5 separate regions of the Homo sapiens genome follow, and regions 2, 3, 4 and 5 are each linked to region 1. Evidence: promoter capture Hi-C in 16 types of primary human blood cells and fetal thymus (Javierre and others, 2016). All regions are on one chromosome and are shown on one strand. Each heading gives the region's core, a stretch centred on a gene start or on the middle of the fragment in contact. The rest is flanking DNA. Distances are from core to core; before and after follow the strand shown.

Region 1 (4,943 bases), core at 1,719-4,218:
TAGAGTGTGAAGAAAAGCCCCTCCATTTCATCCTGTTGCTGCTGATAAATTATTGCCTCTTTAGGGAAACTTCACCCTCACTGGACCTTAAATTTAATGAAAGGAGGAATCACAAAAATTAGAGATCATCAGCTTTTCCCTGAGCTGAGTTCAAAAGACAGGTAGGCTTCATCATTTTCATTTTGGATGCATGCTCTTTTCTGAAAATGCCAATATCCAATGCCACAGAAAACAGAAAACTATCCCCTCAAAATAAAAACCCAGAATCAGGATTTTCGAATTTACAATTCAACCTCATAAAGGGTAGAAGATGAAATTCCCCTCATCACAATATCTGACAATATCTTTAGGGCATTAAGTTTAGACAGACCCTCCTTCCAACACTCACACACACATACACACACACACACACACACACACACACACACACACACACACATCCCATCACCCAAACAAGCAAACCTTGAATGAAACTTACAGTTTGGAGAGCTGTTCTGGGTGAGTGGATGATAATTCTTTTTTCAGAAATGAGATCTTGCTATGTTGCCCAGGGTGGTCCCAAACTCCTGGCCTCAATCGATCCTCCAGCCTCAGCCTTCCAAAGTGCCTGGATTAGACTCCATAGCGCCTGGAGGAGAATGATGGAAGTTGAGTCTGACAGTGATTATGATGTTCCGACCTTTTATTCCCAGGTGGCTCCACCCATATCACGGGTTTTTCCAGGAAATACGTTTCTTGATTAACTTATCTCTGTGTAAGAGTTTAAAATATTTGTCTAGAAAAGGCTAGATAGTGACTTATTTTACTTTATTTCAATTGGTAATTAAAAACTTTTATTTAGAAATCATTGCAAATATACATAAGAATTGCAAGATTAGTAGAAATAACTTATATTCCCTTCACCCAAATTTACCAATTGTGTATATTTTGCCACATCTGTCTGCTTTCTCTCTCCCTCTTTTGATGTTCTATGTATCTATCTATCTATCTATCTATCTATTTTTTAATAGAGACAAGGTCTTGCTATGTTGCCCAGGTCTCGAACTCCTGACCTCCAGTAATCCACCCGCCTCAGCCTCCCAAAGTGCTGGGATTACAGGCTTGAGCCACCATGCCCAGACATGTTCAAGTCCCTTATATAACAGGATATACTTTTACTCCACTTAATGTTTACCTGTTTTCTTTGTAGTAACCGTGCTTTTTGTTTTATATATATATAATTATATATATATAACATATATGTATATATATAACATATGTAAGTACATATAACATATGTAAGTATATATAACATATGTAAGTATATATAACATATAAGCATATATAACATACATATAAGCATATATAACATATATAAGTATATATAACATACATATAAGTATATATATAACATATATAAGTATACATAGCATATATAAGTATATATAGCATATATAAGTATATATAACATATATAAGTATATATAACATATAAGTATGTATAACATGTATAAGTATATATAACATATATAAGTATATAACATAAGTATATATAACATATAAGTATGTATAACATATATAAGTATATATAACATATATAAGTATATAACATAAGTAGATATAACATATATAAGTATATATAATATATAAGTACATAACATATATAAGTATATAACATATATAAGTATATATAACATATATAAGTATATATATAACATATATATCCTACATTTTCAACACGTGTAACAAATGTGGATAGTTTCAAAAAGATCATTTTACGTTCTAGTAGTTACCCTGTTTGACCAAAGTGTAGTACTTTTATTTTTCTATTGCAGTGCATTTTCTTTTTTTTTTTTGGCGGGAGGTGAGGGAGCGGAGCGGGGATGGAGTCTCACTCTGTCACCGAGGCTGGAGTTTAATGGCGTGATCTCGGCTCACTGCAGCCTCTGCTTCCTGGGTTCAAGTGATTCTCCTGCCTAAGCCTCCTGAGTAGCTGGGATTACAGGAGCCCGCCACCACGCCTGGCTAATTTTTTGTATTTTTAGTAGAGACGGGGTTTCGCTATGTTGCCCAGGCAGTCTCGAACTCCTGATCCGCCCGCCTTGGCCTCCCAAAGTTCTGGAATTACAGGAGTGAGCCACCGTGCCCGGCCTTTTTTCTGTTTTTTTTTTTTTTTTTTTTTTTTTGAGACGGAGTCTCTCGCTCTGTCGCCCAGGCTGGAGTGCAGTGGTGTGATCTCGGCTCACTGCAACCTCCACCTCTGGGGTTCAAGTGATTCTCCTGCCTCAGCCTCCCCAGTAGCTGGGATTACAGGCACCCACCATCATGGCCAGCTAATTTTTGTATTTTTAGTAGAGACAGGGTTTCACCTTGTTGGTCAGGCTGGTCTCAAACTCCTGACCTCAGGTGATCTACCCGCCTCGGCCTCCCAAAGTGCTGGCATGACAGGCGTGAGCCACCGACCCAGCCCTTTTTTCTTTTATATAGTTTTTGAGACAGGGTCTTGCTCTGTTGCCCAGGCTGGAGTGCAGTGGTGCGATCATACCTCACTACACCCTCGATCCCCAAGGCTCAAGTCATCCTCCAACCTCTGCCTCCTGACTATCTGACACTACAGGCGTGGGTAATTTTTAAATTTTTTTGAGACATAGTCTCACTTTGTTGTCCAGGCTGGAGTGCAGTGGCATGATCTCAGCTAGCTAATTTTAAAATTTTTTGTAGAGATGGGTGGGGGGAGGGTCTCACTATGTTGCCCAGGCTGGTCTCCAACTCCTGGGCACAAGCGATCCTCCCGCCTCGGCCTCCCAAAGTGCTGGGATTACAGGCATGAGCCTGGCCAGCATTTTCTGTTTGAATGTTTTTACGTAACCGGAGTCGTCATGATGGAGGTACAGTTCCTTGGACTTCCGGCTCCCATGGCTCTGGAAATCTCAGCTCGGACCCGCCCCTTCCGGCGCCGACTCCCCTGATTCTCCTGGGAACAGAAGAGTTCTGGGCACAGCACGCTGCGTCTGCGCAGTGCCGGGCGCAGGCCTCCCGACCTACGGGTCTAGGTACGGGCTCTAGCGTGGCCGGGGCACATAGAGTTCCTGGCCTAGAGCTGGTGGGGCGTAACGGCAGGAGTTAGGGTTCAGAGAAAACCAGCCCAGGGGCGGGTTCATCCTGTTACCCATTCAGCCTCAAGCGAGGTGGGGTGTGGTAGGTGGGCTGGTGCTAGAAACCACGCCGGGAATTGTTAATAACAGTCATCCCGGCCGGGCGCGGTGGCTCACGCCTGTCATCCCAGCACTTTGGGAGGCCGAGGAGGGCGGATCACCTGAGGTCAGGAGTTTGATATTAGCCTGACCAACGTGGCGAAACCCCGTCTCTACTAAAAATACAAAAATCAGCCGGGCATGGTGGTGGGCGCCTGTAATCCCAGCTACTCGGGAGGCTGAGGCAGGAGAATCGCTTGAACCCGGGAGGCGGAGGTTGCAGTGAGCGGAGATGGCGCCACTACAATCCAGCCTGGGCGACAGAGCGAGACTCCGTCTCAAAACAACAACAAAACCCCCAAAAAAGCGGTCATCCTCCAGGTGGAAGAGACAGAAGAGAGGGTGCGGAAGAGACTTAAAAGTCTTAGGCCTTCAAGCGTGTTTGCCTCAGCCACCCGTGAATCCTACAGGAAAACTAAAACAACTCGGCCACAAGCCCCCAAGTCTTGGGGAAGCGGACGGTTTCCCAGCCGAGCTTTAGGAGGAGGCGCCGCGGGACCTCACGGGTGACGTCGTCCCCGGGGGTAGTTTGCGCAGAGGGTCGCTTTGGGCGCGCTTAGAGTCGCGTGGTGCCTGGGCCAGCGAAGCCCAGGTGCAGTCATTTGTGGCCCTGTCCCGGCGCGCGAGGGGCCAAGGCTGGTCGGGGGCCGGGTCCGCGCGGTAGCAACTGCGTCCTGCCAGCTTCCATCTCTCCCTCTGAGGGCCTGAGCGGCTGCCAGAGTCAGGTCTGCAGGCCGGGCGCTCACGCGTCTGTGCCCAGTGAGGCCCCAAGATGCTGGTGAGGCCTCGACCCTGACTGGTGTCCAGGCTCTTGACACTGTCGTGAGAAGGAATTCATGGATGAGCAGAACAAAGTGTGGAGATTCATTGCGACGGGAATAAGTACGTACTGAAGAAAGAAAAGTGCAGGCATACCACAGAGCATCACGCCCAGCGGGGTTTGGAGCTACCTTTAAATATTTATTTAACCAAGGGGTGGAATATTCATGAAGATTCTTGGAAAAAGGTAAACATTTCTTGGTACTGCGGTGCCACACATTTTTATACTAAATACGGGTGTTCCCCAGAGCTGTCACAGTGGGTGTGTGACTTAGTATGTTAATGAGCACATAATGAGAGGTCCTAGGTGAAACGGGTCGAATCCAGCACCATGTTGGGTCCAGTCGGCTTTAGCCAGCTTGGCCCACACCCTGGTTTTCAGAGTCTTATCCGCCCCTAGCTTACGCAGCGATTTCAACGGTTTCCTTTGCTAGTCATGTGAAACTGTTGCCTGGAATTTTCCGTTCTCCTGTGACCACCTTTATTATTCCTGTCTCAAGGGGCACCCCATTTGTGCCTATAAGGAGACTGCATTGGGACCAGGCTCCTGGCTGCTCATGGAGCCTCAGCCAGATGGTTGTGTGCCTGAGTCCTGTGTTCATTCCACAAACATGCAGCAAGGCTGCGTGGGTTGGAGCCCTGCCTCCAGCGCTTCCCTGCTGCATGACACTGGCAAGTTGCTTAAGCTCTCTGTACCCCATTTCCTCCTCAATAAGGCAGGGATGGTGATCGTACTAGTTCCAAAGGATTATTGTGAGAATTAACATAATACATGAGTTAACACGTATAAAATGCCTAGAACCTTGTCTTTGGATTTCCTCAAACATCCAAGGTGTTTGTACACTAAAGGAAGACACCCAACTTAATTTTCGATCTACAGACCTTGCATTAT
Region 2 (4,943 bases), core at 1,000-3,499, 950 kb before region 1:
TATAACAAAGAGACTGTCTTCAGAAACAGCCTCTTTTTTTGGGCATTTAATGGGCATGACAGTTTTACAAGTAACGCAAATGAACGGATGTTTTACATTCACTTTATACTTTGCCACACGCTTTGGGATTCCAGGAGCTCATTTAATCATCACTGCACTTTGAGGGGCAGGTAATTTACCAGTTGTGTGTGTGTGTGTGTGTGTGTGTGTGTGTGTGTTTTCTCTTTTTTTTTTTTTTTTTTGAGACAGAGCCTTTCTCTGTTGCCCAGGCTACAGTGTAGTGGTGCAATCCTGGTTTAGTGCAACCTCTGCCTCCCGGGTTCAAGCAACTCTCCTGCCTCAGCCTCCCAAGTAGCTGGCAGTAAAGGCACGCACCACCACGCATGGCTAATATATATATATATATTTTTTGTATTTTTAGTAGAGACAGGATTTCACCATGTTGACCAGGCTGGTCTCAAACTGCTGACCTCAAATGATCCATCCATCTTGGCTTCCCAAAGTGCTGGGATTACAGGCATGAGCCACCACACCCAGCTTACTAGTTGTGTTTCTTTAATTGGATTGAATTTGTGTTACCTGCCATGGGGCTAAACCAAAAAGGAATGAATTGGCTCAGGTAACTGAGAAGTCCAGAGAGGCTGTGCGCAGTGGCTCATGCCTGTAATCCCAGCATTTGGGAGGCTGAGACAAGAGGATCGCTTGGGCCCAGGAGTTTGAGACCAGCCTGGGCAACATAGCAAGACCTCATCTCTAAAAAAATTTAAAAGTTAACCAGGCATGGTGGCACATGCCTGTAGTCCCACCTACTCAGGAGGCTGAGGTGGGACAGATAGATCATTTGAGCCCAGGAGGTTGAAGCTACAGCCTTCGTGACAAAGCAAAACCCTACCTCAAAAAAAAAAAAAAAAAAAAAAAAAAAAAAGTCCAGAGGACTTGGGGTTTCCCTTCTTCTTTTTTTTTTTTTTTTTTGAGGCGGAGTTTCGCTCTTGTTGCCCAGGCTGGAGTGCAATTGTGCGAACTCGGCTCACTTCAACCTCTGCCTTCCGGTTTCAAGAGATTCTCCTGCCTCAGCCTCCCTAGTAGCTGGGAGTACAGGCACGTGCCACCATGCCCGGCTAATTTTGTGTTTTTAGTAGAGACGGGGTTTCTCCATGTTGGCCAGGCTGGTCTTGAACTCTCGACCTCAGGCAATCTGCCTGCCTTGGCCTCACAAAGTGCTGGGATTACAGGCTTGAGCCACTGCGCCCAGCCTGGGGTTTCCCTTCTTGGACCATTTTGTTTCTACATAACACTTACTGTGTAATGTGCCCATAACATCCTAATTTCTCTATTTTCCATTTCCCCACCAAAATATAAGCTCCTGAGACCACGAGTTTCATCAGTTTAGTTGCCAGAGTCTGGAATTGTGCCTGAGCTATAGTTGGTGCTTGGAAAATACTTGCTGCCTGAAAGAATCTCCCTCTCACATACAGTATAAGAGGAGACTCAGGAGGGACAGTGACTACCACACGTCAGTCCTACCCAGTGCTTCCACAAAACTTCCAACGGCCCTGGCTGTGTTAGTCTGTTTACACGGCTATAAAGGAATACCTGAGGATGGGTAATTTACAAAGAAAAGAGATTTATTTGGCTCACGGTTCTGCAGGCTGTACAGGAAGCATAGTGCTGGCATCTGCACTATGGGGAGGCCTCAGGAAGCTTCCAATCATGGCGGAAGGCAAAGGGGAGCTGGTGCATCATATAGTGAGAGAGAAAACAAGAGAGAGGGGAGGAAGTGCCAGGCTCCTTTAAATAACCATCTCTTGGGTGAACTCATAAAGGGAGAACTCACTCATTACCATGAGGACAGCACTAAGCCATTCATGTGGGATCCACCCCATAGCCCACATACCTCACACTAGGCCCCACCTCCAACACTGGGGATCACATTTCAACATGAGATTTGGAGGGGACAAATATCCAAACCATCGCACCAGCTTTCCTGACTTTTTTTCAGAAACACAATGGGAAGCCAAAGGATACTTAATTCTCTACTTTCTACGATTCTTCCACTCAAGATGCATTTTTGGCTGCCAGTCACCAGAAATCCAACTCAAAATTGTATACACTTTAGGATATTATTTACTTTTTTTTTTTTTAGAAACATGGTCTGGAGTGCAGTGGTGAAACCATACCTCACTGCAGCCTCAAATACCTGGGTTCAAGTGATAGTCCTGCCTTAGCCTACTGCGTAGCTGGGAGTACAGGCACACGCTACCATGACTGGCTAATTTTTTATCTGTTGTATAGATGGGGTCTCACTATGTTGCCCAGGCTGGTCTTGAACTCCTGGGTTCGAGCAAGCCTCCCAAAGTGCTGGGATTACAGGCATGAGCCACCACGCCCAGCTGAGGTTATTATTTATTTGCTGTGAAAGACCAGGATGCAAGGTCCAGGGTGGGGCCCCTGCTTGAATTGTAGATGAGTTTGGGCTTTGCTGTCTTCTCTGAGTTGACTCTGTACAGGATGGTCCTCTCTGTGCTTGCAGGTGGTAGGCAGCATACTTCTCCCTTTGCATCCAGAAAGAGACAGAACCTTTCCTTGCTAAAGAACCAGACCTTCCTCTCAGTCTCATGGCTGCACACCCAGAAACTGTGCTCACTGTGTTAGGCCGTTCTTGTGTTACTATCAAGAAATGCCTGAGATTGAGTAATTTATAAAAAAGAGAGGTTTAACAGGCTCATAGTTCTGCAGGCTGTACAGGAAGCAGGGCACTGGCATCTGCTCAGCTTCTGGGGAGGCCTCAGGAAGCTTTTACTCATGGTGGAAGGGGAAGTAGGAGCAGACATATCACATGGCCAGAGGAGGAGCAAGAGGCAGTGTGGAGTGGAGCGGCTGCCTGCACAGTTAAAAAAACAGACCTCAGGCTGGGTGCAGTGACTTGCTCCTGTAATCCCAGCACTTTGGGAGACCAAGGCGGGTGGATCACCTGAGGTCAGGAGTTTGAGACCAGCCTGGCCAACATGGTGAAACCTTGTCTCTACTAAAAATACAAAAATTAGCCAGGCACGGTGGCACACACCTGTAATCACAGCTACTTGGGAGGCTGAGGCAGGAGAATTACTTGAGCCCAGGAGGTGGAGGCTGCAGTGAGCCTTGATCATGCCATTGCACTCCGGCCTGGGCAACAGAGCTAGACTCTGTCTCAAAAAAAAAAAAAAGGCACATTCAAGGATGACTTTATGACTTTGGTCGGCTCCACCATGTGTGGGGCCTCAGCTGGGAACTTGAAGGCTGAGGTACCTTGAAAGCTGGGAGGCTGGAATCATCTGAAGACTGTTCTGTCACAGGCCTGATGAGGCTGGGGAGATTCAGACTAGGAGTGAACTGACACCCTGAGCAGAGCCTGTGTGGCTTCATCCTCACAGCATGGTGGCCTTGGGCCAGTGGGTTTCTCAAGTGGTGTCTCAGGGCTCCAAGCACAAGTGTTCCAGCAAAAAAAGACAGACGCTGTATGGCCTTTTCTGAACTAGCCTCAGAACTCTCCCTCATTCTTATTTCACCTGCATTCACCTGTTTTCCCACTTGATCTTCTACTTGTGTGCCAATAACTGAGGCGTAGTAAGCAAGGTCCTCTAGACTCAGGAGGGTGTAACCCCCACAGTGCCCTTCCACTGGCTTGGCACCATCAGGGAGAGGAATCTCATCTCTTTCCCTGGCTTAGGAGAGAAGTGATACTGTGGGCACCTCTCTGTAGTACCCAATCCTTGCTGTATTTCCCCTGTGTCGCTGAAGGAGGTCTGATGAAGAGGGGCTGAGTGGAGAGGAAAGAACTCACATTACCGTTTCTTGGTGATTATGCCAATCTAGCACTTTCAAAGGACTGCAAAAGTGCATGTGCCAGATTCCATTTTTACTGAACTGAACTGGAATAGACTGGCCATAATCTCTTTCCTGAATGTAATGTTCTGTGATAAGAATAATATCCTAGGGAGCCTGAAATGAGTAGGCACCTGTCATTCCAATTACCTAAAGCAGCAGATCTTCCTAGCACATTTGGTTTCCTTGAGCACAAGATGCTACACAAGGATAGGAACACAGGGAAAGGCAGGAGGACACAGGTAGTAAAGGGAAGGAGGACAAAACAGCTGACCAAAGACCAAACTGTTGAGCTGCACGTGTCAAATGGGCACTTGAAATGTCGCTATGGTCAACTCTGAGATGTGATGCAAGTATAAGATGCACACTAGGCTGGGAGTGGTGGCTCACGCCTGTAATCCCAGCACTCTGGGAGGCCGAGGCGGGCGGATCACATGAGGTCAGGAGTTCGAGACCAGCCTGACCAACATGGAGAAACCCCATCTCTACTAAAACTACAAAATTAGCCAGGCGTGGTGGCACATGCCTGTAGTCCCAGGTACTCGGGAGGCTGAGGTAGGAGAATCACTTGAACCCGGGAGGCGGAGGTTGCAGTGAGCCAAGATTGTGCCATTGCACTCCAGCCTGGGTGACAGAGGGAGGCTCCGTCTCAAAAAAAAAAAAAAAAAAAAAGATGCACACTAGATTCTGAAGATGTCACGTAACAGAAAGAATGCAAATATCTCAATAATTTTTCATATTGGTATGTTAAACTGCTAACATTTGAGATATATAGGGGTAAATTTTAGTTTCACCTGTTTCTTCTTGCGTTTTCTTTCTTTTTGAGACAGTCTTGCTCTGTCACCCAGGCTAGAGTGCAGTGGTGCAATCTTGGCTCACTGACGCCTCCCAGGCTCAAGCAATTCTCGTGCCTCAGCCTCCCGAGTAGCTGGGATTACAGGTGCATGCCACTGCACCCAGCTAATTTTTGTATTTTTAGCAGAGACATGGTTTCGCCATGTTGGGCAGGCTGGCCTCAACTGATCTGCCCACCTCAGCCTCCCAAAGTGCTGGGATTACAGGCATGAGCCACTGTGCCTGGG
Region 3 (4,943 bases), core at 709-3,208, 940 kb after region 1:
CACCATGCTGTACCAGAGATCTAGTTTATTTCCCCTGTCTAACTGAAACTGTGTATCCCTGGACCAACATCTCTTAATTATTTAATCCTCTTGGCTAAATAATGAGAGCTGCCTGCCATCCGAGTTAACTGTTAACTCTCACAGTGCTGGAATTGGACAAAGAAGATCCACTCAGAGACCAGAGAGGTTAGGCAATGTGACTGAAGTCACACAGCTAGAAAGTCGCAGATCCCGGATTTCAAACTCAACCCAGCCTCTACAGCCCATGCTGTGGAGGTGTGTGATCAAAGGTTTTCAAAGTGTCGTCCCAGACTGGGTGCCGTGGCTGACACCTGTGATCCCAGTACTTTGGGAGGCCAAGGCGGGTGGATCACTTGAAGCCAGGAGGTCAGGAGTTCAAGACCAGCCTAGCCAACATGGTGAAACCCCATTTCTTCTTTTTTTTTTTTTTTTTTGAGATGGAGTCTCGCTCTGTCACCCAGGCTGGAGTGCAGTGGCACAATCTCGGCTCGCTGCAACCTCCGCCTGCCAGGTTCAAGCGATTCTCCTGCCTCAGCCTCCTGAGTAGCTGGGACTACAGGCACGTGCCACCATGCCCGGCTAATTTTTGTGTTTTTAGTAGAGACACGCAATATTTCTTCTCATATTTTCAGGATTTGAGCTTCTTCCCCAGGACCCTTGACACAAGCCAGAAGCATTTTTAAAAACTCTTCCCAGAGGGCAGGGATTTGGGGACACTGTTGTTTCCGAGGAACTTAGGGAGGCGTTACCCGGTGGGCAGGTGCGGATGCTGGAGTCTCTGCCAGGCTCAGCAAGAGGACGAGGAGGAGGACCAGGGGGACGGAGGGAGGAGCCATCGAAGGCAGGACGACAGGTGCCTACAGCTGCGGAACACGCTGCAAGGAGAGAGCGGCCAGTCATTTTCCGAAGCGGGGGCCAGGTGCATTTCCGATAAGGACAGAGGAATTTATTTTTTAGCTTTATGGAGGCATCATCGAGATACAAAAATGGCGCACATTTAATGTACACATCTTGAGGAGTTTGGACGTGTGCAAGCAATTAAGCCTCTCCTTCCCCCATCATCGGATCAGGCCGACCTGGTCCCCCAGCGCCCATGCCTTCTGCCCCACTGCCTCCACCACTCCATCTTCAAACCTTTCCGTCCCCTTACCTGCCCCTCACCTTTTCCCTGCCACCAATGCTGGGGTTTCTCCTGTTATCCCCATCCCTTCAAGCCCCCCATCACTCTCCCAGGAGCCCCTCACTCCCTCCACCCCTCTGCCCTCCTGGCCTAGGCTCTCACCCCAGTGCAGCTTGGATCCACCCCTCTGCCCTCCTGGCCTAGGCTCTCACCCCGGTGCAGCTGGCATCCACCCCTCTGCCCTCCTGGCCTAGGCTCTCACCCCGCTGCAGCTGGCATCCGCCCCTCTGCCCTCCTGGCCTAGGCTCTCACCCCCGTGCAGCTGGGATCCGCCCCTCTGCCCTCCTGGCCTAGGCTCTCACCCCGCTGCAGCTGGCATCCGCCCCTCTGCCCTCCTGGCCTAGGCTCTCACCCCGGTGCAGCTGGGATCCGCCCCTCTGCCCTCCTGGCCTAGGCTCTCACCCCGGTGCAGCTGGGATCCGCCCCTCTGCCCTCCTGGCCTAGGCTCTCACCCCGGTGCAGCTGGGATCCGCCCCTCTGCCCTCCTGGCCTAGGCTCTCACCCCGCTGCAGCTGGCATCCGCCCCTGTGCCCTCCTGGCCTAGGCTCTCACCCCGCTGCAGCTGGCATCCGCCCCTCTGCCCTCCTGGCCTAGGCTCTCACCCCGCTGCAGCTGGCAGCCGACCCTGTGCCCTCCTGGCCTAGGCTCTCACCCCGGTGCAGCTGGGATCCGCCCCTCTGCCCTCCTGGCCTAGGCTCTCACCCCGCTGCAGCTGGCAGCTCTCCGCAGCTCTCTCTGGCTCCTCGCTCCAGCGCCTGGACTCTTTCACGCCCCCTGAGCTTTTATGCCTTCTGAGGAGACAATAGAAGGGAGGGGGGAAAGGGAGGGGATTAGAAGAAGGGAGAGGGAGTGAAGAGGATGGAGGTGGGGGAACAGTCATCCACTCCAGGGGCTTTCAAACGCTGGTCTGTGAGGTCAAAACACACACTTCATCGCGGGAAATGCTGCTGTGCCTTGGTTTCCCCTGGTAGACCCTGCCCTTCCCCCTCCTTCTGTGCCCCTTTATCTTCCAGCTGTCCTGTTCCAGACTTTGCAGCTATTCGAGGGCTCCCTCCCTCCCTCTTATCTGCGTCTGGGCCTTGACCTGTGTCTTCCTTGGTTGTCTCCACCTGCCACTGGTGTCTCCGTAGCCCTGTCCCCTCTGCCCCCATCAATCCCTCCAAGCCTCCGCAGCTCCCTCACTGAGTTGCATTTCTTCTGTCTTGCACGGTAGACCCTGTTTATTTGTTTACTTGTGAGCTGTCTATCTCCCCGCCCCCCACCTACCACCCTGGCTAAAGGAGACCCCATGAGGGGTGTCAACTGTGTCTTGTTCATGGCTGCGTCCCTAGGCCGGAAGCTCTCAACCAGGAGTGACTCTGCCCCGATGCTGCCCCAGCCTCACCCCAGGACATGTGACCAAGTCTGGAGACAGTTTTGTTTGTTCGTTTTTTTTGTTTTTGTTTTGAGACGGAGTCTCGCACTGTCGCCCAGGCTGGAGTGCAGTGCTGTGATCTCGGCTCACTACAAGCTGTGCCTCCCGGGTTCACGCCATTCTCCTGCCTCAGCCTCCCGAGTAGCTGGGACGACAGGCGCCCGCCACCACGCCCGGCTAATTTTTTGTATTTTTAGTAGAGACAGACGGAGTTTTACTATGTTGGCCAGGCTAGTCTTGAACTCCTGACCTCGTGATCTTCCCGCCTCAGCCTCTCAAAGTGCTGGGATTACAGGCGTGAGCCACCGCGCCCGGCTGGAGACATCTTTACTTGGGACTTGGGAGGGACTCCCGGCATCTCGTGGGTGGAAGCCAGGGACGCGGCTCAGCCTCCCACAGTGCTCAGGAAAGGCCTCCCCGATGGGAAGGACCCAGCCCCGAAAGTCAATAGCTCCAAAGATGAGAAACCTCACAGCAGCCCCTAAAACAGTGCCCGGAGCTCACTCAATACTTGTTGGGTGAACGAATAAGGAGTGTGTCGTTGCTGCGTCTCTCTCCTGTCATGTGTGTTGATCTATCTGTCTCTGCAGCACGCTCTCTCTTTGCCCTGACGTCACCTGCTTTCCAGAGGAAAGAACCTTGGAAGAGGTTTTACTCTTGCTGTTGCCCTTTGCTGTCTAAGGGACAGAGGGGACGCCCTGGTCCTGGCTGGGTTCTGTCTCCTCCTCTCCACCGTGGAGGACACATTGCCTCCAAGGTCCTTCCAGCATTCTGTCGGTTTGTGGCTGGCACTTGTATCTCTGTCCTGTCTTTACACATCCCCATCAGCCCTTACCCCATCCTTTCTCATCCCAAGGGGAAAGGGAGACCCCAGGAGAGGGATGGAGTGAGAAGACGACGTGGGGGATTACAGACACCCTGGTGGGCTCCTGAGCCCCCTCCGCTGTTTCTCCAAGTCCCTCACTTCTCATCCAGAGGATGACAACAACGAGGAGGAGGAGGAGGAGGAGGAGGAGGAGTGGGCAGGGGAGGAGGAGGAGGGGGAAGCTTTTATAGAAGACAAACTGACAAGAAGGTGTGAATGGCTTTGCTGGGAAGGAGAAAGGAGGAGGGAGTGACGCCCACTGCACGGGAGACAGGACTGAGGAGGCGACGCTGAGAGCTTGAAGCTGGGTTACCTGGAGCCCAATGGAGGGTCAGAGAAACAGTGGGAAGTCCTTGCCTCACTGCCCATTAGCTAGTTTGTGAAAAGTAAACGGGGTAGGTCCAAAGCTTGCTCTATCTCTCTTACACACACACACACACACACACACACACACACACACGCAAAACTCAAATGTGGTGCAAGAAATGTCACAATGTCACTTTCTTCTCATTTCTTTCTTTTTTTTTTTTTTATTGAGATGGAGTCTCACTCCGTCACCCAGGCTGGAGTGCAGTGGCACAATCTCTTGTCACTGTAGCCTCCACCTCCTGGGTTCAAGCAATACTCCTGCCTCAGCCTCCCCAGTAGCTAGGACTACAGGTGTGTGCCACCAAGCCTGGCTAATTTTGTATTTTTAGTAGAGATGGGGTTTCACCATGTTGTTCAGACTGGTCTCGAATTCCTGACCTCAGGTGATTTGCCCTCCTCGGCCTCCCAAAATGCTGGTATTACAGGTGTGAGCCACCTCACCCGGCCATCTTTCTTCTCATTTCTGTAACTGAGTCTGTGTCCCTCTTAGTAAATGCAAGCTACAGACACGAGCACCCTTTCCTTCAGAGGACGCTGCAGTTTCTGACCCAGCATCCACCTGGCTCTGGCTGGAGATGAATCTGGCTGGCTTTTAGTTAAATGCCTGCAGCTCCTCCAGGCGCCCCACATGCCATGAGGGTGTGGACTCTATGCCTGGCCTAGGGGTGAGAAGGAGACTGGGATCTGAACAGATCCTTCCCTCTCTCTTTCCTTCAGTGTGGGTAGGTACCTTGGCGCCCACATGTACCAGGTTCCTGTGTACAATCCATTCCAGCCAGGGAGAGTAGAAAAGACATTTGCTGGGGAACTTCTGAAAAGAAACTAAAAACAAAGCTTCCTTGCTCTTTTATTTATTTGTTTATTTTTAAGATGGAGTCTCACTGCAACCTCTGCCTCCCAGGTTCAAGCGATACTCCTGCCTCAGCCTCCCAAGTAGCTGGAACTACAGGCGTGTGCCGCCACATCCAGCTGATTTTTGTATTTTTAGTAGAGACACGGTTTCACCATGTTAGCCAGACTGGTCTGGAACTACTGACCTCAAGCGATCCTCCCACCTTGGCCTCCCAAAGTTCTGGGATTACAGGCATGAGCCA
Region 4 (4,943 bases), core at 1,035-3,534, 930 kb before region 1:
AGATTGGAGGCGGGAGGGAGATGCATGTCACACCCTGGGAGAGTCCTGATGCAAACCAAGCAACCAAGAAAAAGAAAACAAGAATAAGGGGCCAGGCGTGGTGGCTCACGCCTGTAATCCCAGCACTTTGGGAGGCAGAAGCGGGAGGATGAAGAGGTCAGGATATCGAGACCATCTAGGCCAACATGGTGAAACCCCATCTCTACTAAAAATACAAAAATTAGCTGAGTGTGGTGGCGTGCACCTGTAGTCCCAGCTACTCGGGAGGCTGAGGCAGGAGAATCGTTTGAACCCAGGAGGCGGAGGTTGCAGTGAGCTGAGATTGCACCACTGCACTGCAGCCTGGCGACAGAGCGAGACGCCGTCTCAAACAAAACAAAATGAAACAAGAATAAAGGAGGAAATATGAATGCCTGGCAACTTACTGTTGTTGAGGAATTATCTTAATAGCTCTATTTTATTTATTTATTTAGAGACAGGGTCTCACTCTTTCGCCCAGGCTGGAGTGCAGTGGCGCAATCTTGGCTTACTGCAACCTCCACCCGCTGGGTTCAAGCGATTCTTATGCCTCAGCCTCCCGAGTAGCTGGGACTATAGGCACGTGCCACCACACCCAGCTAATTTTTGTATTTTTTGGTAGAGACGAGGCTTCACCATGCTGGCCAGCCTGGTCCTGAACTCCTGACCTCTAGTGATCCACCCACCTCGGCCTCCCAAAGTGCTGGGATTACAGGCATGAACCACCGTGTCCGGCCAGGAATTATCTTAATGGTTTTAGTTGGGGCAATGGTGCTGGGTTATTTTGGAAAAAAAAAAAAGGAAAGAGTGGAGCGACATCACCAAGATGGTGGAGTAGGAGATACCAACCTTCATTTCCCCCTCCCACTACCCACACACAAATCAACTACAGACAGATATTCACAAGCCAGAATAGCCCAGAACGCTCAAGGACCCATTGAAGATCTGCAGCAACACAGTGGAGTAAAGTGAAAAAACCCGAGAATGCCCACAAGAAAAAGCTCACCGGTGAGATAATGCATACCTGAGATGCCAGGAGATCGCTATGCACAAAGAAGAAAAGCAGGGGCCACGAGTATCAGCTACGCGGTGGGAACCACCAGGGACCCCAGCAGTGTGTTCCACAGAGGACACTGGCATCACTTACCACTGAGGTTCCAACAGTCATTCCCGCCAGGGCCTCAGGGAGATACGCCCATGGGATCTCAGGGACCTTAGAGTGCTACCCTCAAAGGGCTTCGGGCAGCTACCCTTACAGGCTTCAGGCAGCCCCTCCCCATGGGGTAATGGTGTTTCAGTCAACAATGGACCACACACACCACAGTGATCTCGTAAAATTATAATGACTCTCTTCCACCACCATTTGAAATCCAACTCCGTAGCATAAGCTGCTGCCTGACCCTGAATGTGCACCAGCACCCCCCGCCTACAACTTCTCCACCAGCAAAGACCTGAATGAGTACCACAACCAATACAGAGGAAATCGCAGAGGGATCCAAGATCTGCCGGATGATGGTACAGTGTTACAAGCAAAAAGATCTGACGATGTGTCTTGACTTAGGGAAGTTGCAGATTGCACAGTTAAAACAGTTACTGGAAGATCAAGGGGATTTGTATCTGTGCTTTTGGAAAACGCTGCTAGTGCTCTTAAGGCCTTGGAACGGAAAGAACAGGAGCTGGATGGCAAATTGATAGGATCACCCCCCACCCCTGCTGCAAAGAGCCAAAGCTTGAAAAGGGAAAGAACCCCCCGAAAGGTTTTCGTGGGTGGATTGAGCCCAGCTACTTCTGAAGAACTAACTAAAGAATATTTTGGAGGCTTTGGGGAGATTGAAAATTTTAAAGGCCAGGCACAGTGGCTCACACCTAGAATCCCACCACTTTGGGAGGCTAAGGCTGAGGCTGGAGAATTGCTTGAGAACAGGAGTTCAAGACCAGTGTAGGCAACATAGCTAAGTCCCAACTCTACAAAATTAGAAAATTACCAGGCACTGTGGCTCAAGCCTGTAATTCTAGCTGAGATGGGAGGATCACTTGAGCCTCGGTGGTCAAGGCTGCAGTGAGCTATAACTGTGCTACTGCACTCCAGTCTGGGTGACAGAGTGAGACCCCGTCTCAAAAAAAGGTAAAAAGGGCCGGCCTCGGTGGCTCACGCCATCATCCTGGCACTTTGGGAGGCCAAGGCAGGTAGATCACTTGAGGTCAGGAATTCGAGACCAGCCTGGCCAACATAATGAAACCCCATCTCTACTAAAAGTACAAAAATTAGCCAGGCATAGTGGCGTTTGTCTGTGGGGCAGGAGAATCATTTGAACCCAGGAGGTGGAGGTTGCAGTGAGCCGAGATCATGCCACGGCACTCCAGCCTGGGCAACAGAGCAAGACTCCATCTCAGAAAAAAGAAAAAGAAAGTAACATGGTCTCGCTCCATCGTCCAGCCTGGTCTCCAACTCCTGGGCTTGGCTTATCCTCCGGCCTTGGCCACCTCAAGCAGTGGGATTACAGATGAAAACTTGGCTCAAACCACATCATTTACACTTACCTACATGCCCCAGGGCAGTTAGTATACTAATTAAGAAACACAGCTTGAAACACTTGCAGGGTTAAAGCTATAAAATGTCTATACATTGATTTTTTTTGAGAATTCATAAATATTAAGGATCTAAAACAAACTTCTTTCTCAAATAATTGAAATCTGAAAGGCTTTGGAAGCCAACTGTCCCTGCACAAAGGTTTACAATTGAGAAATATCTCCTGTTCCTATTTTGTCAAGTTTCTTTAATGGCTGAACAAAAAGAAGCTTCAAGTAATGGAGAAGGCATCGTCTGAGCGCAGCTGCTTTCCTGGCTGCCTGTGCCATTCCTATGTCTTCCAAATCCTATGCTTGGAGGCCCCCGGAGGGACATTTTTACCAGGAACCAACCTGACCTTAAAAATATGAGTGTGACACAGCCGGCTGGGCAGGAGGGTGGAGGTGGCCACAGGACACTGCCTGCCCACGCCCTCGCCAGCCCGACCATGCTGCCGAGTGCAGGGAGGCCACCCCACCCAGAGGGCACAGGGTAAACCCTAAGCACTGCGGGTGTTGCCCTTGAAGCCCCAGGGGATGCCCTGTGCCTCGTCTTCGTGCCTCGGTGACCAGCCTGCTTGTTAAAGGACCCCAGGGGCCTGAGCCTGCAACACCACAAGGGGTGAGAAGGGTATGCTGCTGTGGGTGCACTGGACTCAAACCTCACATTAGAAGCTACAAAGAACCCCAAATGTGCTTCAGAGCCCCACCAACCCGAGCCAGGCTCATCCCTGACACAGTAAATCCACTGCAGCCCCCGTGGCGCGCAGCCCAAGCACCACCCAAGGGAGTCCCATGGCTAGGGCTACGTCAGAGTTGCGTGGCTTGGGTCAGAGATGGCTCTTGGGGCAGGCCGACCAGCGTGGGAAAACTCTGTGCCAATCGACTGCTTAAAGAATTGGGGGAAAATAGAAAGTTAAGAAAGAGCTCCGATACACAAGGAAAACTGCAGGTGAGAACCGGCCCTGCCAGCAGGGAGACGTCACTCTCCAGAGGCCACAGAGATGGCAGATACCTCTGTCTCCACAGTGACCCAGATCCAACTAAAAGCATGCAGGAAGACAGGTCTATTGATGCTGAAATCTAGAAAGCAAGGTCCACAGGTGAATGGAGGCATCTTCAGCCCTGAGGGGGCCAGGCTGTGTCTCCTGACGCCTCTGAGGGTGGGCGTAGCAGCCAGCTCCGTGTGGGCAGAGTCCATGTGGTCCTCATTCTCCTCCCTGGGCACAGGGCAGCACAGTCAGACACTGAGACGTGAGGCCACACACAGGGGGGCACCTTCCTGCCTTGGCCCAGCCGCCTCTGGAGCCAGGAGGCCGTGGCAGCCACACCACAGTGTGGATCCAGACAGGATTCTGTGGAGGGATTCTGGGACTCCAGACAGATTGAAGCTCCGTGGAATGATGAAAATTACAGTTTACTTGATTATGGAAGTCTCTGATTTATTCCAGCCAAAGTATTAGATGAGCCACTAAGAATCACCGCAAATCGCTCTCACAGCCCTCACCAGGGTGGCAGTGCAGCAGGAGGACAGGTGCCCACGCCAGTGGCTCTAGCTCTTCACCTCTGCAACCTCCTTCTCCACCTTCTCCTTCTCCACCCTTTCTCCTCTTTTTCCAGTGTTGCTACAATCTCGGCCACCTGACTGGTGGAGACGTGAACATCTTCTTTGTCCACCAGCTCAATCACCTTGATGAGGTGGTCGACGTTGACCTTGCCATCCTTATTTTCATTCAGTGCTGCGGCCAGGCTGGTGAGCTTGCTTTTGGGAATGTGCTTGACTTGCTTCATGGCGTTGATGAGCTCGGCAACACTGATGACGTTCTCCCCCATGGGCACGCCCTTGGCCGGGGCCAGCTTGCTGGCCCACTGGTCCATCTCCAGCTGCGAGATCAAGCCGTTGATCTGCCCGATTATCTGCTGCACCCTTTTTGTCAATCTCTTGCTGGCTTTAGATCCTTCCATGTATTTTTCTTCACCAGTCTTTGAAAGTTCCTTCTTGAGCTCCTGCAAGTCCTCGCTGTAGTCCTGCATGTCCTCCTTCAGCAGCTCCAGCTCCTCCTTCTTCCTGGTGAGTGACTTCTTCTGTTCCTGCAGCTTAGAGCAGGCATTGCTGAGGATGCTGATCTCCTCCTTAGTCATCTCTTCCTCCTTCAAGCCCTCTAGCACGGGGGCAGTGTCCTTCATGGTCTCTGACTGCAGGACAGTGTCAGGCACTTCTGGCTGGGGCTGGGCCCCTGGCCTTTGGGGAGCGCCTTCCACACATTCGGGTTCAACATCCTTCGCCACCTCCGAATGCTTCTGCAGCTCCTTCTCGCGGTGCTCCTACTGCATGGTCGCCTTCTCCTGCAGTGTGG
Region 5 (4,943 bases), core at 1,365-3,864, 730 kb after region 1:
CTGCAGTTATCCGGAGGCCTAACCGTCTCCCTGTGATGCTGTGCTTCAGTGGTCACGCTCCTAGTCCACCTTCATGTTCCATCCTGTACACCTGGCTCTGCCGTTTAGTTAGCAGTAGCAAACCAGTGAAAGTACTAAGTCTCTAATAAGTAGAAATAATGGTGTAAGCTCTCTCTCTCTTTCTCCTCTCTCTCTCTGCCTCGGCTGCCAGGCAGGAAAGGGCCCCCTGTCCAGTGGACATGTGACCCATGTGGCCTTACCTATCATTGGAGATGGCTCACACTCCTTATCCTGCCCCTTTGTCTTGTATCCAATAAATATCAGCGCAGCCTGGCATTCGGGGCCACTACCAGTCTCCGCGTCTTGGTGGTAGTGGTCCCCTGGGCCCAGCTGTCTTTTCTTTTATCTCTGTCTTGCGTCTTTATTTCTACAATCTCTCGTCTCCGCACACGGGGAGAAACCAACCGACCCTGTGGGGCTGGACCCTACAAACTCTGCATGTGCTTTGGCACAGGAATGTGTACTGGGAAGTGGCTGACAAAAGACCTATGGATTCCATGGAATGGAGAGGCTAGCTCAGAGCATTCTCATACTCTTAAAAGGAAGAAACTGGAAGCCACCCTCTAAGACGACCCTGAATGATCCCTGCCTCCTAGTACTTATACTCTTGTGTAGCCTCCACCTACTTAGACTCACAGCTGATTTTGTGACCAAGAGTATAATGGTGTATGACTTCAGAGGCTTGGTTCAGAGTCAGAAGTGGCCATTTCATCATCCTCTAAATTTCTCTTTGGCAGATTAATGAATGTGAGAAAGTAAAAATGGTATAGAAGAAAGTTAGCCTGAGAGATGGCTGGCTTTGTACCTGTTTGGTCTTTTTCCTTCCTTTCCTCCATAAGCAAATACTGACGCATGTACATATAGACACACTCAACACAGTGGGATGTTAAAGGGAAACTAGAGCCACTCGCCCCTTCCCAAGATCAGAGAACATAGGAAAGATGATGACTTTTTGCATCTACCCTCTCCTCTTGAACTCGCAACACTGTCTTGAACCACAAATAAGGTCAAGTAGGATAAATCTACAACTGTCTCCTCAACTGTCCGCTCACAAGTGTGAAATTCAACCATCCTTGCTGAAGTTGTCTTTTAATATCAGTAATCAGCAATAACCAACCTCTGAGCTTTGCTTATATTATTAAATCATTTTATTTGACCCTCAGGACAAAGCTGCAAGCCCAGCATTACATTCTTCCTTTTATGGACAAAAAAAAAAAAACAAAACAAAACCGAGATAGGCACGAAGAAACTAATAAATGGCTGAAATGCTATTTGAATCCACATCTGTCTAATTCTAAAAGTGTGCTTTCCACCACATCACCGCACCTACAAGGAAAATGCAGCCTCTACCCTCTCCTGAAGAATGTGTAAAGAGGCAATATGGTGTGTTTTGGAAAAAGCATCTTTGCAGAAAGAAAGCATTAGCTTCAGTCATATTAGCATCCTTATCCAGCAGCAGTAGCATTATTTTACATATCAGTTACTCCTCCCCAACAACTCAATGAATTAGATGCCACAATCATCCTCACTTTCAAATGTGGAGACCGAGGCACATCTCTAAGACTGGAGTTCAGGCATTCTGGCTCCAGTCTTAGAGATGGTTAAGGGTTCACACTCTTAACCATTTATTACACCATAGAGCTCACCAGGTTTGAGGGAAACAGGATCAAATCAAAAGAGTCACTCAGGACTCCAGTCCTCACTCAAGGACAAACTGTTCCACCTCGGACAGGGAGAGTTTCCGCATTCTGAGACCCAGCATAACAGGTCCTGACCGGCATCTGGCACTCGGACTCCCAATCATACTGGATCACACTGGCTCGGGATGTGTAAAGTCCAGGGCTTCTCACATTTGATGACACCAAAGCCGCCTAAAAACAAGAGAGAATTAACAACTACCTACGGCGGTCTGATATTTGCCCAAGAGATGCCGCCCCATAAAACTCCTTTACATCTTTATAACGTTTTTATTTTGCGTTCTCCTTCATAACCCACATTTAACTCACCATAGATGTAATGTTTAAAATTAGTTACCAGATAAACTCTTACGCTTCCAAACTTTAAGGTTCCTTCGAAACCTTCTGGTAAAACTGTTGTTCCACGGAAATGGGAACGTAACGGATGAGGCAATCTTCCACAGCCGCACACAGTTGTGTATCCACCGCTAAACGGTCCCAGTCATACATTCAACGACCCACGCGGAGTCAGAAGCTACCACCACACACTGTCAAAATCACGCACACACAGTGACGGCCCCTTGCCCACTCGGTCACTCGCCCACAATCTCTCGCTAGAGAATCACACGCAGATAGCACACCCAGCACCACAGACCCCAGGAAGCAACCCAGGGACTCGAACACACGAACAGCACTCCTCCGCGCACTGCGCAGGCACGCCTGCGTCCGGCTCACCCTGAAACATCGCGAGATCCGGCTTCAAGGCCGGGCTGCTGCCTTTACGCCTAAAGACTATGTTTCCCGGAAGACACTGCGGCGCCGGCCCTATCATGGCGCAGCATCGGTGTGCTTTGTGCGTCTGCGCCATCTTCCGGCTGCGCACGGCGAATCCACCGGTACCGTGGTGGAAGCGCGCCCTGGGCTGCCGGGGGCGCGGCCGCGGTGGCACTTGGACCCGAGGAGGCGGCAGGTGAGAGGTTCCGGAGCTTTCCAGGCGCTCTGGGGTCCAGCAGGAGCTGGTGCCCGGGCCGGTTGGGTCTCAGGCCTGAGAAGAACGCAGACGTCTCGCCTCATCGTCGCTCTGTGGCTTTACCGGCGTGAGACTACATTTCCCGCCGGCCCTCGCGGCGTGCGCTTTCTGGCGCCCCCTTTCTGCTTCCAGCCTCATAGCCCAGGTGCATGGACCCCTTAGGTGGGTGCGCAGGGGTCTCCGACCCCCTGAAATTGCGGATGTTTTGCATTCACTGTTATGCGTGCCTTTTTTTTTTTTTAATCTGAGAGGAAATCTTGTTTCATGAGGTTCTCAGAGAGTTACAAGACCCCAGAAGACTTAGAACCGCTAGTTTAGAAAAACTTATACTTGGGAACATTTTATATGTTCAAATTCTATGTCCAGCAATGGGGAAACACTTGAGTGGATCACAGGCCATCCTTTGTAAATAGGATATCGTGCAGTTAATACAAATAATGCTTATAAAAGTGGTCATAATAAGGAAAAGCTGCCTATTACATCATATTAAGCAACATTCATAATTATTTCACTTACACGTTACTTAGAACCAAATGTTTGTAATGCAGTAGGCACCTTATATACTCCTTTACAGAGTACTTCTTGTTTAACAGTGAGCTCAAGAACTGGTTAAATGACAACACTGCGAATACTTGGGTGTTTTTTCTTCCAATTTTTTTGTTTTGTTTTGTTTTTAGCCTGTGTGTTAGTGAGTTTGACTTCTTTTTGCTGAATGTTCTCAAAGGATTCAGTAGTTAATATCTTTGCTTGTCAGTTTTTGATAGTCATTTTTGATAGTCACTTGGCATCCCATTATATGGCTGTGCCAAAAATGATTCAACCTCTTGGCTACTTGTGGACTTGCCTACTTACGTACTAATTTTCAGTTCTCCTATTTAGCAAATATTATTGGACATGCAGCTTTGTGCACTGCTGTGTCTCTATGGAAGGACACATTTATGTGCTGATAATGGAGCACTGGGCGTGCTGTGTGTAATTTGTCTCTTACTGTTCCTTCCAACTCTATCCCATTTGTTGATGCAAGGCATGCTCCATGAAGTGGCATGCACAAAGCCTCAGTTTGGGCTGTAGAGCTTTTTGTATATTTGGCGGTTGGGAAAAGAGCCAGGTAGACTTTCAAAGGTGTTATATTTGCTGCAGGAGAGAGTTAAATGGCCTAGTCCTGGAAAGGCTTTATTCTAGGCTGGGGCTATGCAAATGATGCAGGCCTTCTATGCTCCCTGGCTTGAGGGAAGCCCTCCTTGTCCTTGAGGTAACATGTGGGTCTCAGTCACTAGAACAGCCCTCAGCATCCCTGTCTTAGACTTGCATTTGCAGCAAAACAGAACCACTGGATGTTTAGGGGAAATGGGAGGGAAAGGACCACTGGTTCCCCTTTGCCTTGCAGCAGCTAAAGCTGGTTTCCTGGGGTTGGGTGAGGATCCCTTTGCCTCCCCCTCCTTCTCATTTTCTTGGTGGGCAGAGGGCAAGCAGGTGGGGACTTGTAACTTGGCATTCTAGGAACTGTGAGGCAAGCCTAGCCTCTCATGTTTGCTCTTTCCTCCCCCAGCTCTACCGTCGCAGGACTCTGCCCTTCCCCAAGAGAGGAACCAGAAGGAGGACCTATCAGCCCTTGAAATTCTAAAAGTCATGTCCCTTGTGAGTTTTTAAATCCCATAAATATTTGCTTTCCTTATCTTGAAACTTTCCACCTGGGTTCCATCCAGAAATTTGGTTCTCAGACTTTCCCATTTTAGGGAATAAAAGGACCAGGCAGGAGTCTCCTCTCCCATTGTCCTCTCCCCTCTGACAAATGCCCACAGATTTATTCTCTATAGCATTCTGCATCTCCTGATGGTTTTCGTCTGCTAGGAGGAGAAACTCATTTCCCTGTATGAAATGAGAGCATCCTTTGTAAGAACTGAAGTTTGAAGAGATGGAATGAATGCTTAGGAGCAATCACATATAGAAAAGCAGGGGAGGTGGTGTTGGTTGGTTTCAGTTTCAGCGCATGGTACAGTGTCCTGCTTTGGGAATGATTAATGATTGGATATGTAATTGAGGTTTGGCTGGGAATCCATCAAAAATTTGATGCCAGAATTAAAGTCTAGTTTGACGTTGGACAGAGCATTTGAATCTGGGACATCCTCCATTAGTTTCTTTAGCTTAAGAGGAAGAAAAGTACAGAGCTGAGGATG

Evidence for each region. Contacts are between HindIII fragments. The CHiCAGO score rates a contact against its expected background, and 5 or more counts as called.
Region 2: a fragment that was not itself captured here is called in contact with the fragment with the promoter of USP29 in region 1 in 2 of 17 cell types (activated CD4 T cells and erythroblasts); the score reaches 9.5 in activated CD4 T cells.
Region 3: a contact is called between the fragment with the promoter of GALP here and the fragment with the promoter of USP29 in region 1, in 1 of 17 cell types (total CD4 T cells). The highest score is 5.0, in total CD4 T cells.
Region 4: a contact is called between a fragment that was not itself captured here and the fragment with the promoter of USP29 in region 1, in 1 of 17 cell types (activated CD4 T cells). The highest score is 5.6, in activated CD4 T cells.
Region 5: a contact is called between the fragment with the promoter of ZNF582 here and the fragment with the promoter of USP29 in region 1, in 6 of 17 cell types (fetal thymus, erythroblasts, naive CD8 T cells and 3 more). The highest score is 7.4, in fetal thymus.

Annotation. Positions count from the first base shown.
Region 1 is chr19:57,118,010-57,122,952 of GRCh38, reverse strand. It overlaps USP29 (ubiquitin specific peptidase 29), which reads right to left and starts at 2,968. Exons shown (of 4, transcript NM_020903.3): 1 at 2,724-2,968; 2 at 479-628. The HindIII fragment of the contact is 8,956 bases long and covers 1-4,943 here.
Region 2 is chr19:58,070,680-58,075,622 of GRCh38, reverse strand. No RefSeq gene overlaps it. Among named protein-coding and RNA genes, the nearest start is that of ZNF135, 14 kb to the right of the region's middle. The HindIII fragment of the contact is 1,092 bases long and covers 1,704-2,795 here.
Region 3 is chr19:56,173,023-56,177,965 of GRCh38, reverse strand. GALP (galanin like peptide) reads right to left here and starts at 1,958. Exons shown (of 6, transcript NM_033106.4): 1 at 1,904-1,958; 2 at 771-896. The coding sequence starts at 857. RefSeq lists enhancers at 1,722-2,272, 2,273-2,823. The HindIII fragment of the contact is 6,092 bases long and covers 1-3,664 here.
Region 4 is chr19:58,045,965-58,050,907 of GRCh38, reverse strand. The region is part of intron 4 of ZSCAN1 (zinc finger and SCAN domain containing 1); the gene reads right to left. It also overlaps the pseudogene LETM1P2 and the pseudogene HNRNPDLP4. Among named protein-coding and RNA genes, the nearest start is that of ZNF135, 11 kb to the left of the region's middle. The HindIII fragment of the contact is 1,070 bases long and covers 1,750-2,819 here.
Region 5 is chr19:56,391,205-56,396,147 of GRCh38, reverse strand. ZNF582 (zinc finger protein 582) reads left to right here and starts at 2,614. Exons shown (of 5, transcript NM_001320371.4): 1 at 2,614-2,928; 2 at 4,316-4,404. The coding sequence starts at 4,396. ZNF582-DT (ZNF582 divergent transcript) reads right to left here and starts at 2,472. Exons shown (of 2, transcript NR_037160.1): 1 at 2,095-2,472. The HindIII fragment of the contact is 9,401 bases long and covers 1-4,943 here.